7 separate regions of the Homo sapiens genome follow, and regions 1, 2, 4, 5, 6 and 7 are each linked to region 3. The links are contacts of gene promoters, found by promoter capture Hi-C in blood cells and fetal thymus (Javierre and others, 2016). All regions are on one chromosome and are shown on one strand. The core of a region is centred on a gene start or on the middle of the fragment in contact, and the rest is flanking DNA. Distances in the headings are between cores, read along the strand shown. Region 1 holds the start of KIDINS220 (kinase D interacting substrate 220). Region 2 has its middle 14 kb from the start of ID2-AS1. Region 3 holds the start of RNF144A (ring finger protein 144A). Region 4 has its middle 30 kb from the start of LINC01814. Region 5 overlaps KIDINS220 (kinase D interacting substrate 220). Region 6 holds the start of LINC01814 (long intergenic non-protein coding RNA 1814). Region 7 overlaps KIDINS220 (kinase D interacting substrate 220).

The links. Contacts are between HindIII fragments. The CHiCAGO score rates a contact against its expected background, and 5 or more counts as called.
Region 1: a contact is called between the fragment with the promoter of KIDINS220 here and the fragment with the promoter of RNF144A in region 3, in 5 of 17 cell types (fetal thymus, non-activated CD4 T cells, total B cells and 2 more). The highest score is 11.2, in fetal thymus.
Region 2: a contact is called between a fragment that was not itself captured here and the fragment with the promoter of RNF144A in region 3, in 2 of 17 cell types (fetal thymus and naive CD8 T cells). The highest score is 6.6, in fetal thymus.
Region 4: a contact is called between a fragment that was not itself captured here and the fragment with the promoter of RNF144A in region 3, in 1 of 17 cell types (erythroblasts). The highest score is 7.0, in erythroblasts.
Region 5: a fragment that was not itself captured here is called in contact with the fragment with the promoter of RNF144A in region 3 in 1 of 17 cell types (total CD4 T cells); the score reaches 6.2 in total CD4 T cells.
Region 6: a contact is called between a fragment that was not itself captured here and the fragment with the promoter of RNF144A in region 3, in 2 of 17 cell types (fetal thymus and erythroblasts). The highest score is 9.9, in fetal thymus.
Region 7: a contact is called between a fragment that was not itself captured here and the fragment with the promoter of RNF144A in region 3, in 1 of 17 cell types (naive CD4 T cells). The highest score is 7.4, in naive CD4 T cells.

Annotation. Positions count from the first base shown.
Region 1 is chr2:8,835,974-8,839,083 of GRCh38, forward strand. KIDINS220 (kinase D interacting substrate 220) reads right to left here and starts at 1,640. Exons shown (of 30, transcript NM_020738.4): 1 at 1,507-1,640. RefSeq lists silencers at 1,697-1,756, 1,767-1,816. The HindIII fragment of the contact is 383 bases long and covers 1,468-1,850 here.
Region 2 is chr2:8,666,462-8,669,457 of GRCh38, forward strand. No RefSeq gene overlaps it. Among named protein-coding and RNA genes, the nearest start is that of ID2-AS1, 14 kb to the right of the region's middle. The HindIII fragment of the contact is 5,903 bases long and covers 1-2,996 here.
Region 3 is chr2:6,915,718-6,918,661 of GRCh38, forward strand. It overlaps RNF144A (ring finger protein 144A), which reads left to right and starts at 1,695. Exons shown (of 9, transcript NM_014746.6): 1 at 1,695-1,905. GRASLND (glycosaminoglycan regulatory associated long non-coding RNA) reads right to left here. Exons shown (of 5, transcript NR_033997.1): 1 at 2,685-2,944; 2 at 1,133-1,507; 3 at 106-250. RefSeq lists a silencer at 1,535-2,024. The HindIII fragment of the contact is 2,406 bases long and covers 1,054-2,944 here.
Region 4 is chr2:8,552,357-8,555,579 of GRCh38, forward strand. No RefSeq gene overlaps it. Among named protein-coding and RNA genes, the nearest start is that of LINC01814, 30 kb to the right of the region's middle. The HindIII fragment of the contact is 2,355 bases long and covers 557-2,911 here.
Region 5 is chr2:8,757,102-8,759,935 of GRCh38, forward strand. The region is part of intron 22 of KIDINS220 (kinase D interacting substrate 220); the gene reads right to left. It also overlaps the pseudogene LOC100216337. Among named protein-coding and RNA genes, the nearest start is that of ID2, 76 kb to the left of the region's middle. The HindIII fragment of the contact is 3,233 bases long and covers 1-2,834 here.
Region 6 is chr2:8,582,116-8,585,331 of GRCh38, forward strand. It overlaps LINC01814 (long intergenic non-protein coding RNA 1814), which reads right to left and starts at 1,677. Exons shown (of 6, transcript NR_110257.1): 1 at 1,602-1,677. RefSeq lists a silencer at 1,568-1,937 and enhancers at 1,615-2,294, 2,295-2,973. The HindIII fragment of the contact is 2,516 bases long and covers 519-3,034 here.
Region 7 is chr2:8,731,559-8,734,371 of GRCh38, forward strand. It overlaps KIDINS220 (kinase D interacting substrate 220), which reads right to left. Exons shown (of 30, transcript NM_020738.4): 29 at 1,886-2,122; 30 at 1-424. Among named protein-coding and RNA genes, the nearest start is that of ID2, 51 kb to the left of the region's middle. The HindIII fragment of the contact is 1,563 bases long and covers 610-2,172 here.

The sequences.
Region 1 (3,110 bases), core at 390-2,889, 1.9 Mb after region 3:
AAGGAATCACCAGACAGTACACAAGAGAGGCAGTGGGAATAGAGAAGAAATGAGGGATATTAACTTGAAAAATATAAAATCCCTGACATTTGAACTTTCTGAACTACCAAAATATCCAGAAGAGATATTCTGGATATAAAGATAAAACTATGTGACTGGTTGGAAAAGAAAACAGGTGGAAGATGACCAGATGCCCAGCATAGGTGACTGAAGAATGGAGCTGCCCTTAACCAAAAAAAAAAAAGCAGGAGAAAGAGCAGACTTTTCTCTACTTAAGTTATGCCTCCTCCCTTCCACCACCCCAGCTGGGCGAATGGGGCTTTGGCCAGGCTGAATTTGAAGTGTCCCAAAAGAACTAGGTTGGAGAAACCCACCCAATACTTGGAAAAAGATACCGTTCACACTGTGTGTGAATGATCTGGAAATTATTCACACAAAGGGTGTAGAACAAGGATTCTCAAACTTGTGTGCACCAAAATTATTTGGGAAGCTTGTCAAATACACATATCCCTTGAGCTCCTCCCCGGGAGAATCCCATTCCCTAGATCTGGGGTGGTGCCCAGAAACTGACATTTTAACAAGCACCCCAAAATGATTCTGATGAAAGTAGTCCATGCTAGTAAAGCTAGAAGAGAACAAAGAACACACCTGGCCACGGCATTTCCCAACCTGGGCTCTGCACTCAATACCCCACGGTGGTTTAAAAAGGTGTAGATGTCTGGTCCTCAGTGTTGTCAAAATGTGGACAGGAACGAACCTGAAGGGGTGATTCCCGAGCCACACCTCAGGCCGAAGGAATGGGAATCTCTAAAACGCTAAGAAATCTACATTTTTAACAAGCGCCCATAGGGAGCAGAGATGGCTGCATAGTTATTCATAAAAAAATTTTTCATCGGTTTAAACCTGTCAACTTGAAAGAATAAAAATTCCAACATTACAAAGTGATGAAGAAATTATTTCCCTATAAATAAATCTTGGAGGCGTGGAAATCAATGGCTTGCACTATTTTGCCAGGCGTTTAAAAGCCTGCACAGGACAATGGAGCAATGGAGCCCACGATAAAAGCAAGGGAGAAAACAACACCTCCCGGCCCGTGGAAGCCTAGGAGGAGGAACCTAGAAAGACTAGCGGTACCAGCTAAGGGGGCTCTCAAGGTGGTGGATGTGCCAGAGGCTGCTTGGCAAAAGAAAAAAAACGGTTTTACCAACACCCTTCACCCCAACCCACCCGAGGGGCCCCTCAGGAGACAGACCACCAGAGACTCCAAGGTCGGAGACCTTCCCGGCGCTCCAGGAAACGCGGACTCGCCCCGAAAGCCGGGGCCCGAGCGTCCGGGGCCCGCGCCATGCCCTCCCCGGGACCCCCGGTCCGAGCTCGCCCCTTCCGCGCACTCCTCGGCTGTCCCACCTCCCCGCCCGACTCCCCGAGCCCGGCCTCGCCCCCGACTCCTCCCCAATCCCGCGGCAAAGCTTCGCGGACCGGCCTCCACACTGACGGTCTCCCAACCTGGTCCTCAGCTCCGGCGGAACGGGCCCGCTCGGCTGCAGGCGATGTCAGAGGACGGGGAAGCAAGAGACGGCGACTGCAAGCGCGTCGCCCTCACCACACCCGGCGGCCATATTCTTCCCTCTCCGCGAACTGACAGATCACGTGCCCTGGGTAGGGGAGGGACTCCGGGTTGCCACGCCCCCTGGGCGTGGAGGGGAGGGGCGGGGCGGGGCGTAGAGCAGGCGGGGCTGGAGGGGCCGCGGGGCGGGGACACCCAGGACAAGCGCCCCAGGCAAGGTTTTTCAGTGTCAATGTCACTCTTATTACAGTTAATTTATTATCCCTATTTTCCATTATAATCAAGCTTATTCAGAGAAATAAACATCAATTATATCTTCAGAAGAAACTGCACATACATAAGAAATGAAAGCCCGCTCAGCAGCCTTCTTCCGGATCCAGGAGCGAGACCTCTGCCTTTCGCGGGGCCTGTAGTTCACACTCCTTCCAGGTCTCCCAGCACCTCCCCTCACCTCCTTCAGCCTCCACATTCCTAGGCCTTGCTGCCAACAAGCGTCAATCTTGATTTTTGAAAAGGTCCAAGGATGATTACGACGTGCGTAGGTTGCGAACCATCGAAAAGCACCCACCAATGTGTCAACCTGGCAACTCAGGAAAAAGCCAATAAGGAGCCTGACTTCATCAGAAGTTGGTGCGGGGTGGGGACAATGGCTCACTCCTGTAATCCCAGCATTTTGGGAGGCCAAGACGGAGGATCACTTGAGCTCAGGAGTTTGAAACCAGCCTGGGCAACATGGAGAGACCTCTTCTCTACAAAAAAAAAAAAAAAAAAAAAAAATACAAAAATACAAAACTTAGCCAGGCGTGGTGTTGCACACCTGTAGTCCCAGCCACTTAGGAGACAGAGGTGAGAGGATCACTTGAGCCCAGGAGTTCGAGGCTGCAGTGAGCTGAGATCACACCACTGCACTTCAGCCAGGGCAACAGGGCAAGATCCTATCTCCAAACAAACAAACAAACAAACAAAAACGGAAGTTGGTGTGCCCCTCATGAAACAAGGAGCGAACACCCCAACGTGTACAGTGGAGTCCTAAATGGTGTGATTTCTTCGATAATGACTTGCTAAGGCCAGCCACTGTTGTAAACAGGGCAGGGTGGGTCAGGCGTTGGGGGTTAGAAGTATGGTAGGTGTATTAGCCCGTTTTCACACTGCTATAAAGAACCACCTGAGACAGGGTAATTTATAAAGAAAAGAGGTTTAATTGACTCACAGTTCTGCATGGCTGGAGAAGCCTCAGGAAACTTAAAATCATGGCGGAAAGGGAAGCAAACACGTCCTTCGTCACATGGCTGCAGGAAGAGAGGTGCCCAGCAAAAGGGTCAAAAGCCCCTTTTACATCCAACAGATCTCGTGAGAATTCACTCACTATCACGAGAACAGCACGGGGGAAACCGCTGACGTGATCCAATCACCCCCGACCAAGTCCCTCCCTTGACACGTGGGGATTATGGGGAATACAATTCGAGATGAGATTTGGGTGGGGTCACAGAGCCAAACCATATCAGTAGGATATAAGGATGAAGCCAACCTTAGAGTAGGGGAG
Region 2 (2,996 bases), core at 417-2,916, 1.8 Mb after region 3:
CTCCAGTAGTCACAAGTCCCAGGTTTTCTCAACTCTAACGGAGGAGCCCAAGCAAAGGGACACTCCCAGAACACCCGGGAGGCTTATCCTTCCGCCGCTCCTTTGGTTTTCCTTGGACTCTCTGCTTAGAAACCTACAACGTGAAATCCAGTCATGGAAGCAGCCACAGAACAGTTGTTTCTTTCTGGTCAAATTTATTACATGATAAATTAGTATATTGTTATACAATCATTTCAATATAGAGTGTATAACAGCATGCACATCTCTGTCCCCCAGCCCAAGAAACAGCACATTCAGCATGCACCACTGAAGCTCCTGGAGTAAACCTCCAGCCCTGGTCCTCGGCCCCCGCCTGGAGAAGTAACCATGTGGATTCAGCACTCCTGGCCCTCCGCACTGCTCCATACTTTCATACTCACGTTGGAAACAATGAGTAGTGTTGTGTTGTTTGTTTGAACACTCTGGATACACCAGCATCATATTGGACATATACTTCTGTGGCCAGGTGGTCTTCTTCCATCCTTATGTCTTTTATCTTCATCCATTTTGACGTGTGCAGCTCTAGTCCATTTATTTTTACTGCTCTCTAGAACTCCACTGTTGGGCACTCCCACATTATCCCCTCTCCCATAGATGGAAACTTAGATGTTTTCATAATGACAAACAAATGCCGCAGTCAACACGTGTGCACATTCATGCGCATGCCCATGGCTGGAACTGTGGGGTCAAGGATGGGCACATCTTCAGTTCTACTCAGAATGCCCCTTTGCATTCCAGTGTGGTGGGATTGATGCCCATGCTCCCTGGCAGTATTGGAGAATTCCCACTGCTCCACATCCTCACCAGATTACCAGATTTTCTGTTGTCAGACTTTTTAATTTTTGCCAATCTCATGGATGTGTTGCGCCATGGTAAACCAAGTCCTAACAAGGGCCAAGAGGCCTTAGGCCAACACCATCTGGCTGCCACAATTCCACCCCCACACCACCCCACTGTACACCTTCCTACACTTAGTTCCTATTCCCTTCCTGGACTCACCGCGTTTCTGCCACCCTGGCCTCGATGTTCCATGTATGTACCAGGCACTCATGCCTTGGAACTTTTACACTGGCTGTTCCCTCTTCCACAAATGCTGTTACCCAGGTACAGTCATGTTCTCTCCTTCCTTTCTTCAAGTCTCTGTGCAAATGTCACCTTCTCAGTGCAACCTATTGGGGCCACCTTATTCACAACTGTACCCAATCCTTGCTCCTGGCACTTCTCCTTTATCACCTACACCTTTATCACCTTCTAATAACCTATGTGATTCACTCACCAATTTTATTTCTTTGTCTCTTCCCACCAAAATGTAATATCCAGGTGGTGAGGGATTGTTGTTGATTTTGTTTCCTGGTATTTCCTAAGTTCTGAGGAGAGTGCTTGGCACATAATAGGCATTCAGTAAATACTTGCTGAACACATGGATGGATGAATGGAAGAATGGATGGAAGGATGGAAGGATGGATGGATGAAGTGATCAATGGATGATGGGATGAATGGATGGATGGATGAAGGGACGAAGGGATGGATGGATGGTTGGATGGAGCAATGGATGGATGGATAGATCAATGGATGGATGGATGAAAAGATGAATGGATGAATGGATGGAAAAATGGATGAAGGGATGAAGAGTAAATGGATGGATGGATGGATGGAGGAATGGACATATGGATAAAGGGATGAATGGGTGAATGGATGGATAAAGGGATGGATGGAAGTAAATGGACGGATGGATAAATGAATGGATGGATGAAGGGGTGAATGAATGGTAGACGATGGATGAAGGGATGAGTTGATGAAGGAATGGATGGATGAATGGGTGGATGGATGGATGGACGGATGGATGAAGGGATGAATGGAAGGAAGGAAGGATGGATGGATGGATGGATGAAGGGATGAATGAGTGGATGGATGGATGGATGGACGGATGGATGAAGGGATGAATGGAAGGAAGGATGGATGGATGGATGAAGGGATGGATGGATTGATGAAGGGACGGATGGCTGGATGGAGTGATGGATGAAGGGATGGATGGATGGGTGGATGGATGAGGGGATGGATGGATGAGGGGATGGATAGATGGATGGATGGATGTCTTAAAGCTCAGTCATTTGTGCTACTATTCACACTGGCTGCAATTTGTGAGCTTGGAAAACCAGTCCTTTTTTCCAGCCTGAGGTAAGATCTGATTCTTCACAAGGCTGTTTCACTACTGACATGTTTTCATCAGATACGTTTGCATGTTCATTAACTCATGTAAACATTATTAAAAGGACTATGTAAACAGCTTCCTACACGTTTCCTCTTGCTTTCATTCAGGTATAATTATATGAAAACACAATGTACCATATGTGCCAACGGGCCATTCCCTTTCTTGTGCTTCCAAACGACAATTCCCCTCTGCAAACACACTCAGATACCAGGTCTTTACATTTCTCCTTCTACTCCAAATCTAATCTGCCTTCTGAAGACAAAAATCTCAAAGCCCCTGCCCAATGATATGGCAGCCAACAATGTCCATTCTCACCCTAATATGGTCTAGGAACTCACTCTTACCTTTAAAAGTGCTTTGCAAATTGTAAAAGGGTATTCAAAAATGGTTACTTCCTCCTTCACTGTACCCTTGTCACAACTATTCAAATAGTCATAAACATTCAATGCTGCCAAACATGATGGTGGTTTCCAATCCTCTTCACCCTACCCAAGTCCAACATGTCACCCCTCCAATAGTCACTATGTCCCCTCACACAGGAAACATCTCAGAAACAGGCATGAGTGTCCTGACAGCTGCAGAGGAATAAGTATGCTGAAGGTCACTGAAAGTGACTGGCCAGCAGCCTCTAAATCAGTTCTATTTTCTTCCTGGCATACTACTCGTCTAGATCTTCCAGCCCCCTCCCTTGCAGTTAGGTATGGCCATGTGACCGAGTTCTAACACAGTGGTTCTCAACCAGGAC
Region 3 (2,944 bases), core at 445-2,944:
CTTGAGTGTTATACGTCTGTGTTCCATGAGAATGCCTGCATCTTAATACAGACCCCTTTATTGTGGGGAACACAGCACAACGTCTGTGCATTTGCAGTCACCCACCTGTGCATCCCCTGAATCCTTCATTCATAAGTAGTACTCAACCAGGAACTTCTTTGGTATCCCAGCTCGGACACGGGAGGTGTGAATATATTTTTCATAAAGCCCAGGCCTTTATGCAGAACGATTTTCATCCTCTAGTGAGAGGCTGAAGTAACAAAGTGCTGTTGTTAAGATTCTTCCCATTGTGCATTTTTCTTGAATAATGACATTTCTAAAAAGAATCTGAAACTGAGGCATTAGAAGGCAAGTGCTCGTTCATATATTTGAAGAGGTCAAATATTTACCAGAATAACTTCTCAATACAGAGGGGACAGCTTTATTTTATTTTACTATAAAGATGTATGTGTAGCAGAAGACAAATTATGCAGAGCTTTGAGTTAGTTAAGAATCATCTGATTTAATTCTTTGGAGAAATGAGACAAATTGTAGCTAAGGACTATGGAGTTGTTTTAGTTTGCCAGTTATATTTAATTTGACTATTTCTTTATTTATTGAGAGACAAAGTCTCACTCTGCTGCCCAGGCTGGAGTGCAGTGATGCAAACACAGCTCACTTCAGCCTTGACCTCCTGGGCTCAAGCAGTCCTCCTGCCTTGGCCTCCCAAAGTGCTGGGCTTACAGGTGTAAGCCATGGCACTTGGCCTATTTGACTTGTTTAATCCCTCCGAAGAACTCATACATACTATTGCCACCTCATTTTCCACGTAAGAAAATGGAAGCACGAAGACCTTAATAACTTGCTTAATGGCTAGTAGGTGGTAGAGCTTGAATTTAGACCACACAGTGTGGAGGGTATGCTATTAAGGAAAAACGATGTTCTAGTGGGGTTTCCATTTAATATTGCAGAAAAAAGAATCTATATATTTAAGAAGGTGTTATTTCATGCACACTCGTAGGTTTTGTTCATATATGCACATCTGACGTATAATTTAACATTTGTGTAACTTCAAGCTTCTATGGGGAGTGGCAGAAGATGCAGGAATTCTATTAATACCTTCGCAGATCTTAGATTCCAACAAGCTGGATACCTTAAGAAAAATAAAGAAATTGCTGTGCTTGGATCCCAGATGTCCATTCCACCTTTTGGGACCTCCCGGGGGGCCCTCTTTTCTTCATCCTTCAAGACAAGGATAGTGGGGTGAACAGACAGACTTTCCTTGCGAGGGTTGGCTCAGGAAGGCTCTGGGCTCATCTCACAGCCGCCCCAGCGAGGGTCGGGGAGGCAGGTGCTGGCTCCGGTGGGGTCTGCGGCAGAGCAGGACTGGAGCCCAGGGCGCAGCTGCACAGCTCAACGCCGGTTCGCGCCCTGGTTTACAGCGTTGGGCTGGGTCACCCCTTCTTTCCTAGCTTGCTGCTGTGTGTTCCCTCGGTGTAGGAATCAGGGGAGTGTCTTCTGGAGGCCACTAAAGCAGGAATAGCATTTTCATGTTAGCGTGCACGGGCGGTCTCCGCAGCCCCTCCTCGTGCCGGAGCCTGTCCTGGGGCCTGCGGGGCGGCTCCGGGCCTCGGGCCGGCGCAGGCGGGCGGCAGGGGGCGCTGTGCGGCTCGGCGCGGGGGCGGGGCCGGGGCCGAGCCTCCCGCGTGCCCGGCCTCTGTGCGCGCTCGCGCCCCGCCCGCGCAGCCGCTTCTCCCCGCGCGGGCTCTCGGCAGGCGGGAGGCGGCAGGGCTGGCATTGCAGTGCGGGCCGTGCGGGCTGCGCGGGCGCGGGGAGGCGCGGGCGGCAAACTGCGGGCACCCGGCACCCCGCAGCCAGTACCGGGCGGAGGCGTCAGAGCCGCGCACCGCGGACGAGCAGGCCCAGGTAGAGTGACGCGCGTCCCCTTTGTGTCCGCATCGCCCGGGCCGGCCGCGGAGCGGGGAGGGCGGGACGCGGCGCTGCGCGGCCGGCCTTGGGGCTCGGGGCTTGCGGCCGCGCCTGCCCCGCTGGGTCCTGCCCCGGCGCCCGGTGGCAGCGGGCGGGGGGCAGCGTCCCGGGCGGGGACTCGCGGGCTCCGTTCAGAGGACGCCCGCCCTGCCCTGCCCGTGTCCCTGACCTCGTCCCTGCTCTGCTCCTGCCCTGCCCTGCCTCTCGCAGGCGGCGCCCGCGCCCCAGGGCAGTGGGCGCTTAGGGACCTGGCGTCCCCCTGCCTGCCCTGCGCGGTCGCGGGTCTGCGCTGCGGCGCGGGACAGGGCGCCCCGGGCCAGGGTCCCGCGGGCGAGCTGGCGGCGGGGGCTTTCAAGGTTCGCGGCCCCGCCCGCAGACCCTGGGGCTGGAGCCTCGGCCCCAAGAGGAGGTCTGGGAAAGGACGACGCGTCCGGGGCATCGCCACCGGCGGGGAAGGTCGGAACTGGCCAAGAGGATGCCCCGCACATCCCCTGCGCGCGGGGTCCGCGGCTGCTACTGCCCCTGGTCCCCACCGCGAGCCCTTTCCCGGGGAATGAGCCGCCGCCCGAGCCCCGGAGTTCCCTGCGGGTCTTACCCACCCCAGCCTCCGGCCGCCGACCCCAAGCCCCCTGCACTGTGCTTGGCTCCCAGCTGTTTGGTCGCTTATGCCATCCTGGAGGCTTCCTGGTCCTGGGGTGAAGGGGTGACTTCTTTACCCTAATGGTCTTCGTAGGCAGGTCTCAGGATGTCCACTCCAAAGTTCGTGGTCTTTTTTCTAGAGAATAATAATTTTTAAAATCCATTGAACTGGCCGGGCGCGGTGGCTCACGCCTGTAATCCCAGCACTTTGGGAGGCTGAGGCGGGCGGATCACGAGGTCAGGAGATCGAGACCACGGTGAAACCCCCTCTCTACTAAAAATACAAAAAATTAGCCGGGCGCAGTGGCGGGCGCCTGTAGTCCCAGCTACTCGGGAG
Region 4 (3,223 bases), core at 484-2,983, 1.6 Mb after region 3:
GTCCCCCTTTTCCACACTCGGGGGTGAGACAGCGGGGCCTCAGATGCAGATGTGAGAAGCGGATGTGAAGCAGATCTGGGAGGGCCTCAGCAGCCTCACACAAGACCTCCTGACATCAGCATACACCCCGTCTTCCCGACAAGTTTCCCTTTTCCTGGTCCCCATTAGAGAACACCCACATTACTCATTGCACAGTTACCGTTGAACTTTCTATTCTGACGTTCTCTTTTCACACTCGTTCAGAAATACACGCTGGTACCATTTCATTTGCTTTTAAATAGCACGCCGAAGAGGAGACATGCCCAGTGGTCTCCGAGTCATGCCCCACAGGATCCAGGTCATTTGCCTAAAAGGCAGAAGTCAGACCTGGTGAAAGCTCACAGGTAACAGCCGGGGGGCCGCCCTTGCACCTGGCATAGGCCTCACCAACCAGGTGCCTGTGCAGAGGTCTCTTAACTGTTTAAACTAAGGTAGGTTTTTCTGAAAAGCAGCCTCTCTCAGATTTTTTGGCCTCAGGACCACTTTGCCCTCTTAAAAATTATTCAGCATCCTCAAAAGCTTTTGTTCATGTGAGTTTAGATTTGATGGCATTTGCTGTTTTACAAATTAAAACTGAGAAAATTTTAAAATATGTATCAACTTGTATCAAAAATAACAATAATTCATGACATGTAAACATAAATTTCATATTTTAAGAAAAATAACTACATTTTCTTTCTTTCTTTTTTTTTTTTTTTTTTTTTTTTTGAGACAGAGTCTTGCTCTGTCACCCAGGCTGGAGTGGCAGTGGCCCAATGTCAGCTCACTGCAACCTCTGCCTCACGGTTTCAAGCGATTCTCCTGCCTCAGCCTCTCCAGTAGCTGGGGTTACAGGCGCCCACAACCATGCCCAGCTAATTTTTGTGTTTTTAGTAAAGACAGGGTTTCATCATGTTGGCCAGGCTGGTCTCGAACTACTGACCTCAAGTAATCCATCTGCCTCGGCCTCCCAAAGTGCTGGGATTACAAGCGTGAGCCACCGTGCCCCAGCCACTATACTTTTCAAAACAAAAATATCAGTGAGAAGAATGGCAATAATTTATGCCTGTTCAAAGCTCCTGGGTGTCTGACTTAGAAAACAGCCAGGTTGTCAGATCTGCTTCTGCCCTCAGCCTGGGCCATTAGATCACTTTAGCTGAGGCATGTGAAGAAAATTCAGCCCGAAACAAATATGTAGCTAGAAAAGAGGGACATGTCTGTAATAGACTTTTCAGACAATTGTGGCTATTCCTCTTCCATACTATACCAAAATTCAAATCATGATAGTTTCTCATAGGTTAGCTGCACTGTTGAATGAGAACCCATCTCACCTATTTTTTTTATATGACTACATTAAAATCTATTAGCTATCCTGCACTTTGAATAGATCATTTGTTTACCCACTCATGATTTTGCAATAAATGTATTGGTCATTTGGCAAATATTGATTCACTGACGTGTGATCTATCAAACGTCAACACATTTCATTACACAGCCAGTGCATTAATATGATCATGAATTCCATCAGAAAAGTCCGGAGGTGTTAGGAAGCTATCAAGCTCACAGCAATGGATACAAGTTTTCTAAAATTTTAATTTTCACACGAAAGGTCTAATTGTATGGCAACAGATACTATCAGTTATTTTTCCTGAAGCCACAGGCTTACTTCATTTATTTTCAAGAAAATGTCTGCCAAATATCCAAGTCTGGTTAACCTAGTTTAGGTTACAGAAGTCCCTCTCAGCTCTAAAAGGCCAGCCTCTTACAGAAAGTTCTGAGGGTCTTAAAGTTCAGGGCAAAGCAAAAAAGAGACCTCCAGGGAGATATTCCCTGCAAGCAGCTCCCAACAGCCCAGGGAATGACGATTAATTTGAACCGCATTTTCCCAGGGCATTGGTAAGAGGTCAGCCTACTCCACAGCTGATCTCTAAATCCCAAACCCAGCATCCAGTGTAGAAATGATGAAAATGGCCAATACATTCTTCTGGCAGTTGGTGCAGTGCTCAGTGCATGAAGGTTGAAGTAACCGTGCAGTGTGGGGCACCAGCCAAGACGCCGTTTCTACCTGGGGGCTGTCTCACCGTGCAGGAGGCGCGTTTGCTCCACAGTTTACTGTCAGCATCATACATACAGGTAACCAAAACCCTTGTCAACGGCCACAGGCAACCATCAATAGTGAGCACAATGTAACCAACGAAGGCTGGGGTGTGAAGAATCCAGCCAGCCTGATAGGCAGGGCACCATGCTGCAGTCAGGAGACCTGGGTTCCGGGGCCAGCCCTGCCTCCAACATGCTAGGGACCATGGCCAAACCACTTAATGTCTTTGCATGGGCTTCTTTGCCCTATAAAATGGTCAGGGGTGAGGTAGATGAACTCAACAGGTGCTGAAATTCTCCTCTAAGAAGTAGAGATATAATTACAAGATGTCAGCGCATAATATCATGTGTACCCACCCTAAAAACTCCATGAACCCCCAATGGACACACAAAAAAAATCATTGCTTACAGGTAATATTACTTTCTAACCAAAGTTTTATTTTAGAAATTTTAAAATATTGTCATAACCGAGAAGAAAAGTCTGTAGGATGGCAGGTGATGTTGGAGCGGGGTTAAACAAATAGACCACTGGGACATGTTAGAGTCTAGAAACAGATCCATTATAAATGGAAATTTAATATGTGATAAGGGAGGCTGAAGCAGCTTTAAAACATATCCACAAATTATTTGACATTTCTCCCATTGAGAAGTGAGGTTTATGTCCCCTCTGTTTGAATCTGGGTGGACATGTGACCGTCCACCAATGGAAGTGACATGTCTGACTTCCATGGTGAGGTCACAAAAGGCCATGCAGGTTCTTCCCTGTTCTGTTGCAACACTAGCTCTTGGTGTCCTAAGCTTTCATGAACAATTCAGACCACCCTGAGGCCTCCATACTGTGAGGAAGCCCAAGCCATATAGATGCCAAGTTAGGCACTCCAAGGACTGTTCCCAGCTGAGCCCAACTTTTGAGTCATCCCAGCCCAGGTACCCAAACACGTCAGTGAAAAACCCTTAGATGATCCCAGTCCCCCACTGTTCACACCACCCCAGCCACTCAAGTCTTCCTAGCTGAGGCCCCAGACATGGTAGAGCAGAGCCAGATAATCCCCATTCTGCCTAAATTCCCAGACTTCAGAGTTCACGAGCAGAATCAAGTTGTGATTGT
Region 5 (2,834 bases), core at 270-2,769, 1.8 Mb after region 3:
CTTTGCAAATTCATTTTAGGAAAAAAAAAAGAGTTAAGATATTTACTAGTGTTTATACAAACAAGATGCAACCATTAGTTCAAAAAATAGGGTTTGTTTTTTCCCAACAAAAGTGCATACTTTAATAGGACTATTTGAATAAAAATCCCATACAAATGGAATGTGTACTTAACATTAAGAAAGCAGGGAAGCAGCATGTCCTACAACATAGAACACAATTGGCTCAATCAAGATGAATTACCCTTTCAACTAAATATCTATTTTTTATATTTATTACTAATGTCACAGTCAGTTCAGTAAATGCCAACAGTCTTACAGCTTTAACCTTTAGTCATGAGAAGCACACTTGATTGTTTCCAAAGGGATATGTGAGGCCGTCTTCATTTCAGAGGAGCAGAAGTGACTGTACTGTTGTTTGCTCTTTAATGTTTCAACTACCCATTCCGTTGTCTCATGAAGGCCAGTACCTCTGGTTGCTGAAGTTTTGAATATTTGCCATTTTCAGTCCTTCGAGGCAGATAACCCAAGTGAATGTGCATCTCTGAGGGAGTCATGGCCTGTTCCATGTCCTGCTTATTTGCAAATGCCATTAAAATGGCTTTTCTCAGCTCTCCATCAACATGGCAACTAACACTGACTTGGAAATGCCAATTCGGTCTCGGTCACAACTGTCTGCTCCACAGCATCTGTGTTTGAATAATAACATCTTCAGTATGGCTCTGTCCTCCTAAATCCTGGACTTGGAATTCTGTATGTTTTCTTTGTTGGTTTTGTTTTTAAGATGGAGTTTCACTCTTGTTGCCCAGGCTGGAGTGCAGTGGTGCAATCTCGGCTCACTGCAACCCCTGCCTCCTGGGATCAAGCAATTCTCCTGCCTCAGCCTCCTGAGTAGCTGGGAGTGCAGGCACCAGCCACCACGCCTGGCTAATTTTTGTATTTTTAGTAGAGACGAGGTTTCACCATGCTGGCCAGGCTGGTCTCGAACTCCTGACCTCAGGTGATCTGCCTGCATCGGCCTGCTAAAGTACTGGGATTACAGGCGTGAGCCACTGCGCCCAGCCCTGTATGGCTTTTATAAGTTGCCGTCTCAACATTAAATCTGATGATAGGAATGTTAGTAATGACTTTTCCAACCTGTAATCTGCATAAAATTGTGGTTTTTCCTGTCTATGTAATCCCCAAATTAAAATCCTCACTTCCCAGGTTCCAAACACACTGGAAAAAATACTTGAGAAAAATCTACCATGATTAAGCCCTGTTCACCCTCACCAATCCTCAGGAACAGATCCTGGTCTCAGCAGCAACTCCAACTCGAGGCACCTCTGCTCACCTTGGCCTTTGGATCTGCCTCTGAGCCTGGACTTCCACACTGGATCTGTCAATTTGCTGGTATTTTCAAGGAAAATACTTCTGGTTTCATTGCTTTTTTTCTATTGTTATTCTGTTCTCTGTTTTATGTCTCTCCACTCTAACCTTTATTATTTCCTTCCTTCTGCTAGCTTGGAGTTTAATTTGCTCTTCTTTTTCTAGCTCCTCGAGGTGTTAGGTTAGGGTGTTAATTTAATATCTTTCTCTTTTTTTAATGTACGCATTTACAGCCATAAATTTCCCTCTGAGTACTGCCTTTGCTGCATCCCATAAGTTTTAATCATTCCTAATATTCTTGTAAAAGTATTTTCATAACTATTCCATGAGTCACCTTTCCTACCATGTTGGAAAGAACATTAGCTTAGGGGGTCAGAAAGTAGACACTTTGTCTGCCACAGCCAAAGTAATAAAAGTACTAAGAGCTGAAGCTGTCCACATGCAGAAGACTGCATTAAGTACACAACAACTCTCAACAGAGAAAAGAACTTGCCAGAAGAGAAAAGAGGCATCTATGCTCGTGTGGTGGTCACAGAATATTCTCAAGACAACAATGCGAACAGTGCCAGGTGTTCTCACTGACACTCACTTTTCAAGGTCTACAAAAGTAAGTTTGCATTTTAGGCATCTTATTGAGTAACTACACTAGGAAACAACGAAGTGCTTATATATTCTGCAGGCCAAATAGATCATCATGGCATGCCTTCTTCAAGTGTGTTTGTCTATTTCTGGTTTAAAAGAAGACATTTGCAAGTATCTAATGTGTTTGACTTATGTGTTTAAGGACGGTGTGATTAGGGTTAAATAGTGCAAACCATAAAAGCACTTGTATAAGCTGCCCTGGAAACCATTGGCAGAGCTAAACAAAGTTATTATTTCACTTACTAGAAGAGTTTACTCGACATTAAACAAAAACTATTTCCCACCGAGGGTGTATATCTCCAAGATGACCTATTTGGCCAGAACATCAGGGCCCAAGATTATGTTTTTATATGAAGGAAGGAAACTTGTACGCATGTAATTTAAAGGATTAAAAAAACCCTTAAACTCAGTAGAATGTCATCATATACAAAAACTCTCTTTGGCTTTAAGGCTGCAATTCTGGCAACTAGATGGATGAAAAAACAATCAACAACCAGGGAGGGTAAAAGATAAAAACTCAAAAGGGGTATCTGCCTAGGTTCAAGTACAATACTGGTAAGGCACTGTCTTCATTCATGTCTACGACGTCGAATGTTCTGAGGAAGGTACATTTAGGGGCTCTGTATCCCTCTTCTTATATAAACTCTAACAGGGAAACTATATTTAAAAGTTATGAAGAATTGAGAGGGAATTTTAAGAAGAACGAAGTGGCTGAATACCTACTGTCTGCCATTCTCTGAGGCAGGTGCTTTACCTAGTTTATCTAACTTCTCTCTCTGCATCCCATAAGGTATTTATTATTTCCATTTTTAACATGAGGAAACTGA
Region 6 (3,216 bases), core at 527-3,026, 1.7 Mb after region 3:
GACTGTGATTCCATTTGGTTTCTTTAAATCCCATTTTTACTTCTTGCTTTAGCACTAAAGCAAACTCCAGGCACTAAACTCAGGAGATGGGCCCATCTCTTTTGCCCCAAGTCCTAACACTCCAGAAAAGGCATCTGGAGCAGTCTGTTCCTTCTGATGCAAAATAAATCCACTGACACTCATCCTCCCTGGGCACCCAGGCCCAGAGCCCAGAGAACAGGCGGCTGCCTAGAGGCATCAAGGCCACCAGCCTCTTTCCCCCTCCACTGCCCTTTAAGTCCTTCCCTGGGCTTGGCTGAGGAGGCAGCAGGGAAAAGAGGCACAACTGCAGGAGAAAGGAGGAGGGCGGGTGGACGTGGCCAGACCCAGGAGGCTGCAGGGAGCTGGGACTCAGCACAGCAGCCTGGGAACTCCACTTTCAGCCTCGGCTAAAACCCCATGCCCAGAGTTCCTCAAAAAGCCCCTCAAGTCCCTCAAAGGCCCCAAAACATGCTGGGTGCTGAAGACAATGGCCTGCAAGCTTCACATGAGAAACTGAGACCCTCTGTCCCCACTCTTCCAGCAAGTTGAGGCCATTTTCTAGGAATGGTGAAGTCAAAGAAGCTGCTCTTTTCACATTACTCAGAAACACGCACTACCCCCAATCACAGATGCCAGCCATGCACAGGGGCCCGTTCTGAAGGCAGGGGCAGGTGCACCAGCCCAGGAGCCCAGAGAAACTACAGCCAGCGCTGCCTCGGCTTAGGGAACCTGCGGCCGGCTTCCTGGGTACAGCCATCGTAGGAAAGAGGGCCTTTCCTCAGCCAGCATCCCTGCCCCTTCCTCCACCACCTTCCCTCTGTGGGACTGCTCCCAGGCAGACCTGGGGCCTCAGCCAGCATGGGCAGGAACTCCCAGAGGACACGGGAAGGACTCCTGAGGTGCGGACTGGAGGTATGGGCGCCTTGCAGCACAGGGCCTAAGAGGAGAGAAGCAGCTCAGCCTCCCCAGGTGGAAGGAGGCACCCCTTTCCTTCCAGGACAGCAACCTGTTGGTTTGTCCCAGGCCTGGTCAGGTGGGGCGAGGCTGCTCCTGGCGAACTAGGGACTCCTCTGCCCAAGCCCCTTCTCAGGGGAGGAGACCGGCATCCTACACACCCATGTCCACCATCCATGAACATTTACTGATCTCTCAGTAAGTCCCAGACCCTGTGCTAGGGTCCCTGCGATCACGAGCTCATAGACCAGATAAGCGCAGAGAAAGTTGTAATTAAACTACCCAATGCAGAACAATGACCAGCCCAGGTCAGGATACAGACCCAGGGCCATGGCTTAAGCAGCAGAGGGCCTGGGGCGTGGGCGGGGGTGCAGGGGAGGGAAAGGTCCAGAGAGAGGGTGTGACCCTGCAGGTCCGGCATAGCCAGGCATGAGGGCACTCCAGGTGGGAATGTGCCGCCCCAACCCCGGGCACCCCCCGGGGAATCCGGCGCCCGGTGACACAGGCCGCCCTCTTTGAGGGCCTGGATTGAGGAAGTTGGGGTCAGAGCTCCAGACTGGAGTCCCTCTTGCTGAATTCCCCTTCCAGACATCAGAGGCAAAGAGGAACCCTCATTCAGAGACCACCTGCACCAGCGCTTCCGGGCTGGGTCAGAAAAACAGGTCGTCCTCGCCGCCCGCGCCGGCGCCTGCAGCAGGTTCCTCTTCTGGGAGCCAGCACGCAGCCAGAGCTCCAGGGAGGGGGGTGCACCCCGGGGGTGGGACCCACGGGGCGGGGCCAGGCGACACCTCGCCCACTGCCGTGACTATGCCCAGCCCCAGCCAAAGCCCGCCCACTGCCGCAGCATGCCACGCCCCCTCCCGGCCCGCCTCGCAGGGTCATGTTCAAGGTCCTGCCCACCGCTCCTCCCACAATCCAGCCTCAGGGAGGGCCTCCAGGCTCACCTTCCCAGCCTCATTCCGCACAGCTTGCTACTCTCCACACGCACCGCCTCCCGTCTCCAGGCATACCAGCCGACCTGTTGGTCGCCTCTTTTCAAGTCCCCCTCATTGCTTAAGACCTTTCATCATTCCTAGGCCTGTGTATAATCTTTCTCTCTTTTACACCCCCCGCCCCTACCCTGGCAATCAGGGCACACATCGAATCCTGCCGGCTACTTTAACAGCTTCAGGCAGACCCCCATGGTTTCCTCCCGGCGAGGCACTTTGAAGTCCTGAAGAAATAAGTGTGAGGTGGTATGAGAGGGGCTCCTCGGTGACTTCCACAGGCCTCCATATCAGGCCTTCCCCTGCAGAATTCCATGGACCTCTCGGGGGTCCAGGACTCCTTCACAGCAGGGAGGCCCCGAACAGGAACCTCGGGCCCTGCCTCGGGATCAGCGGGATCAGCGTTCCTCCGGGGCTGACTGGAGAACTTTCCTTTATCTGCAGGACCCGCTGGGGTCTCCCGGGCCTAGGCTTCCCTCGGAACTGCATCTCGAAGGGCAGCTCAGCTCGCACTCCGCGCACCTACTGTGTGCTCTCTAAGCTGGACACCAGGAAAGCTCTGCGACTCTGCTGTGAACTCTGGGGTCAGTGAGACCCCGGGGTCAAAAGCTGGCTCTGCCGCTCACCATGGCTGTGACCCTGAGAAAGTTGTCTAACTTCCCTGAGCTTCGGTTTCCTAAGCTGCAAAATGGGAACAGCAATCGTTGTCTGTCTTGCAGCCTTGTTACAATGGCCGAAGGAAAGAGCATGGCACGGAATGGGTTCTCAGTTAGAGGCTACAGAATACCCAGCTCCTCCTGCAGGTGAAGAGCACCAGCTCTGAGCCAAATGACCTGAGCTCACACACGGGCTCTGCCAGACACTGGTTGCATAACCTTGAACAAGTTTCCTCATCTTTCTGTGCCTCGGTTTTCTCATCTGTAGAATGGGCATAACATGGTGCAGTGTTTCTACTTGGGAGGGATAAAAATGGTCTGGAAGTTGATAGTGGTGACGGCTGCACAACCCTATGAATATAATTCACATCGCCAGGTTCTGATATGAATTATAAAATATAAATTATAAAAATGATAAGCTTTATATATTTTTCCACAATTTTTAAAAATATGCCAAGAAGCAATGGATTGTACACTTTCAATGGGTAAATTGTATAGTACGTTAATTTCTCTCACTATAACTGTTTTTAGAAAATGTTAAGAATGGAGATAATAATAATGTTACCTACCTCTAAGGGTCATTAGAGGAGAATGAATGA
Region 7 (2,813 bases), core at 141-2,640, 1.8 Mb after region 3:
CTGGGAGAAGCTTACTGCCTGACTGATCTGATTTTTCATCTTCTTCAGTGATAGGATCCAGGGGGGAAGCATCGTTGGTGGAAACCCCTGATGATGAATAATCGATAACATCTCCCCTCTTCATTAGAAAGGACTTCCTCCCATCATCGGGCTTTGGTTCACTATCCTTCCCCTTTTCTTGCTCTAGGTTTGAATGAATAGAGCCCCCTGATGAACTCTGACCCATGTAATATGTGCTATGTGGAGAAGATCTGCCACTAATGGTTGTAGACCCGGGGCCCCCTTCTAACTGGGACATCTGAGCAATGTATTCTCTATAGGCATCTCTATACTCGGCCTGCACCTTATCAGTAAGCTTTGAAATTTCAATACTGGAATCCTGGGAATTGAGACTCGAAAGACTTGGGGTTCTGCGAGTTTGTGACTGTGAAGACAGAAAAAAAATAATTTAAAAATTCAAATAAGAAGAAAAAAGGCATAAACATCAGCTTAGGAAATATATATGTACACTAACCATTTAAAAAGTCATCAAAACATCAAATTCTTTTAAAAGAATTCTACATAACACAGATTAACAAAAGCTGTGACCTTATAATGCTGTTACTAGAAAGCTTTCTATAAATTTTAATAAAATCAGTTTATTGTTAATATTTAAAAGTATGATTAAACACTGTATTAACAAATAATCTTAGCACTTGTTTCTGGTTTTTATTTCATTTTTAAGAGACAGGATCTTGCTGTGTTGCCCAGGCTAGATTCAAACTACTGGACTCAAGCAATCCTCCCGCCTCAGCCTCCTGAGCAGCTGGGACTATGGGCATGTCCCACATGCTCGGCCACAGCACTTGTTTTTATAACTTCAAACGTTTAGCTTTTATTTAAGGCCAAAGTCAACTTCATTGATAAAATATAAAATGCAATGAGGCCAATAGTTGGGCCTTAGTAAACAGAAAAATAAAGTAGTTTTACAAGTTTATTTCCAATATTAAGTTTTAGAATTAGAATTTGCTTCAGATCCCAGAATAGCTAAGAAACAAGGAGCAAAAAGTACAGATGAGGAAAAAGAAGGAGAAGAATCAAGAAAGTTTAAGAAGGGTCAAGAGCAAAGGCTAAAACAAAAAAGAAGGAGCAAAGTGAATTTGTTGGGGACCTTCTCAAGGAAATAGGACATTTTCTTCCTTCCCCAAGGCGCTGCTCCTCCTCACCGCTGCCCTGCCCTGCCCACTCAGTGTTACTCGCTGCCGCCCGCTGTGCCTCCTCCCCCGTTGTTCTCCACACCCTGCTCTGCTTTTCCTCCTGCGCTCTCCTCACTCCCGCTACTCCTCCTGCATCTCTCACTTTGCTCTGTCCCTGCCCCTACCCCTACCCCTCACCTGGCCTCCTTCTTCTAAGAATCTCCAAAGGAAGAACGCGCCTACATCTAATGCCAGACCAGAAGAAACCAATATCCGTGAAGGGTGTGCAGGCGTCCTGGAAAACCAAAGGATGGTGCTCAAAGGGACACTATGTGGCCAGTGTTCCAATGAAGATGTACTTCAACCAACAGTTACTGAATGCAACAGGAAGATCGCCTGAGAAAGGCTGAATTTGCTGACCACCCTAGCTCAAGTGGCCTAATCCCTATTGACTCTGCATGCTGTGACCCTGATGGATATCTCAGCTCTCATCAATGTCTACATGAGCTACTTTTTTGTTTGTTTCACTGACTGCCCCTCTCCACATGGATGCAGCTCCTTGAGTACAGGGAGCCCTCCATCTTGTCTCCTGTTCACTTAGGTATTCAGTAAGCATTTTCTGAATGACTGTCTAAATGCCCATATAATCTCAGTGAACTGAACGGTGTGCTTATTCTTCAATAATATGAAAAATGCCATTCAATAAATACCTGCCAACTTAGATTACTGTGACGAGGGGCACCTTCATCCAGGCCAAGCGTGTTCAGCTCTTCGAAGCTGAAGTTGAGTGTGTAGGGCGTCTGGCTGGAGAGCTCGGTGTGAGGCAGCTCGTTGTGGGAAGCGCGGCGAGCAGGCTCACCGTGCGGGGCTGGGCCACTGCTGCTCTCACTGAGGAAACGTGGGTCTTCAGGGACCACGTGGCTTTCTGCGTTTCTCATTTCTAGTACCTTAACAGAAGAAAAACATAAATATTTACACTAACAAATCATATTTTAGAAGCTTTAGAAATATTTAGAAATACCAAACATTATAAAGCTATTGCAACAGCAATGAGAAAGCATACTTCTGGTAAGTGAATTTCTAGTGAATTTGTTTTATACATCAGCTTATCTTTCATGTTCATTAATACTAAAGGAAGCAATGGTAGAAACCACCATACATATACTACACTGCAATTTGTCCATTAAATTATTACTTCTGTTTAAAACTTAACTTGAGGACAAAGAAAAATGCAGCTGGCTTGTGTCAAAACCAGAGCTGGCCAGGAGTAGGGCGGTAGGTCCAGATTTTATTCAGAACTATGGCAACAGGGGTAAGCAGTCTCACTACAGAAGGGAGTCCAACTCGGAATAAGCACGAATGAGTGGGGATCTACCACCAAGGGGCAGGGTGGGGGTCGTGGATGGAACATTACTAAGGGGAGGCAGCAGGAGTGGGGGACTCTTGGTACGCCGATGGCCAGGGTGAGCCGACATCACCTGGGGGTGGGGGGGTTAGTGAGGCGTTTGATCAAATACTGAGGGTGATCACACATGTAAACTGACTTAACAGGATTCTTGCTAAACCTGGGCAATGCAAGCCCTATAAGGATGAATGCTGAAGGTCAAGGCCTCGAAGGCTTTGAGGAGCCTGATGAGA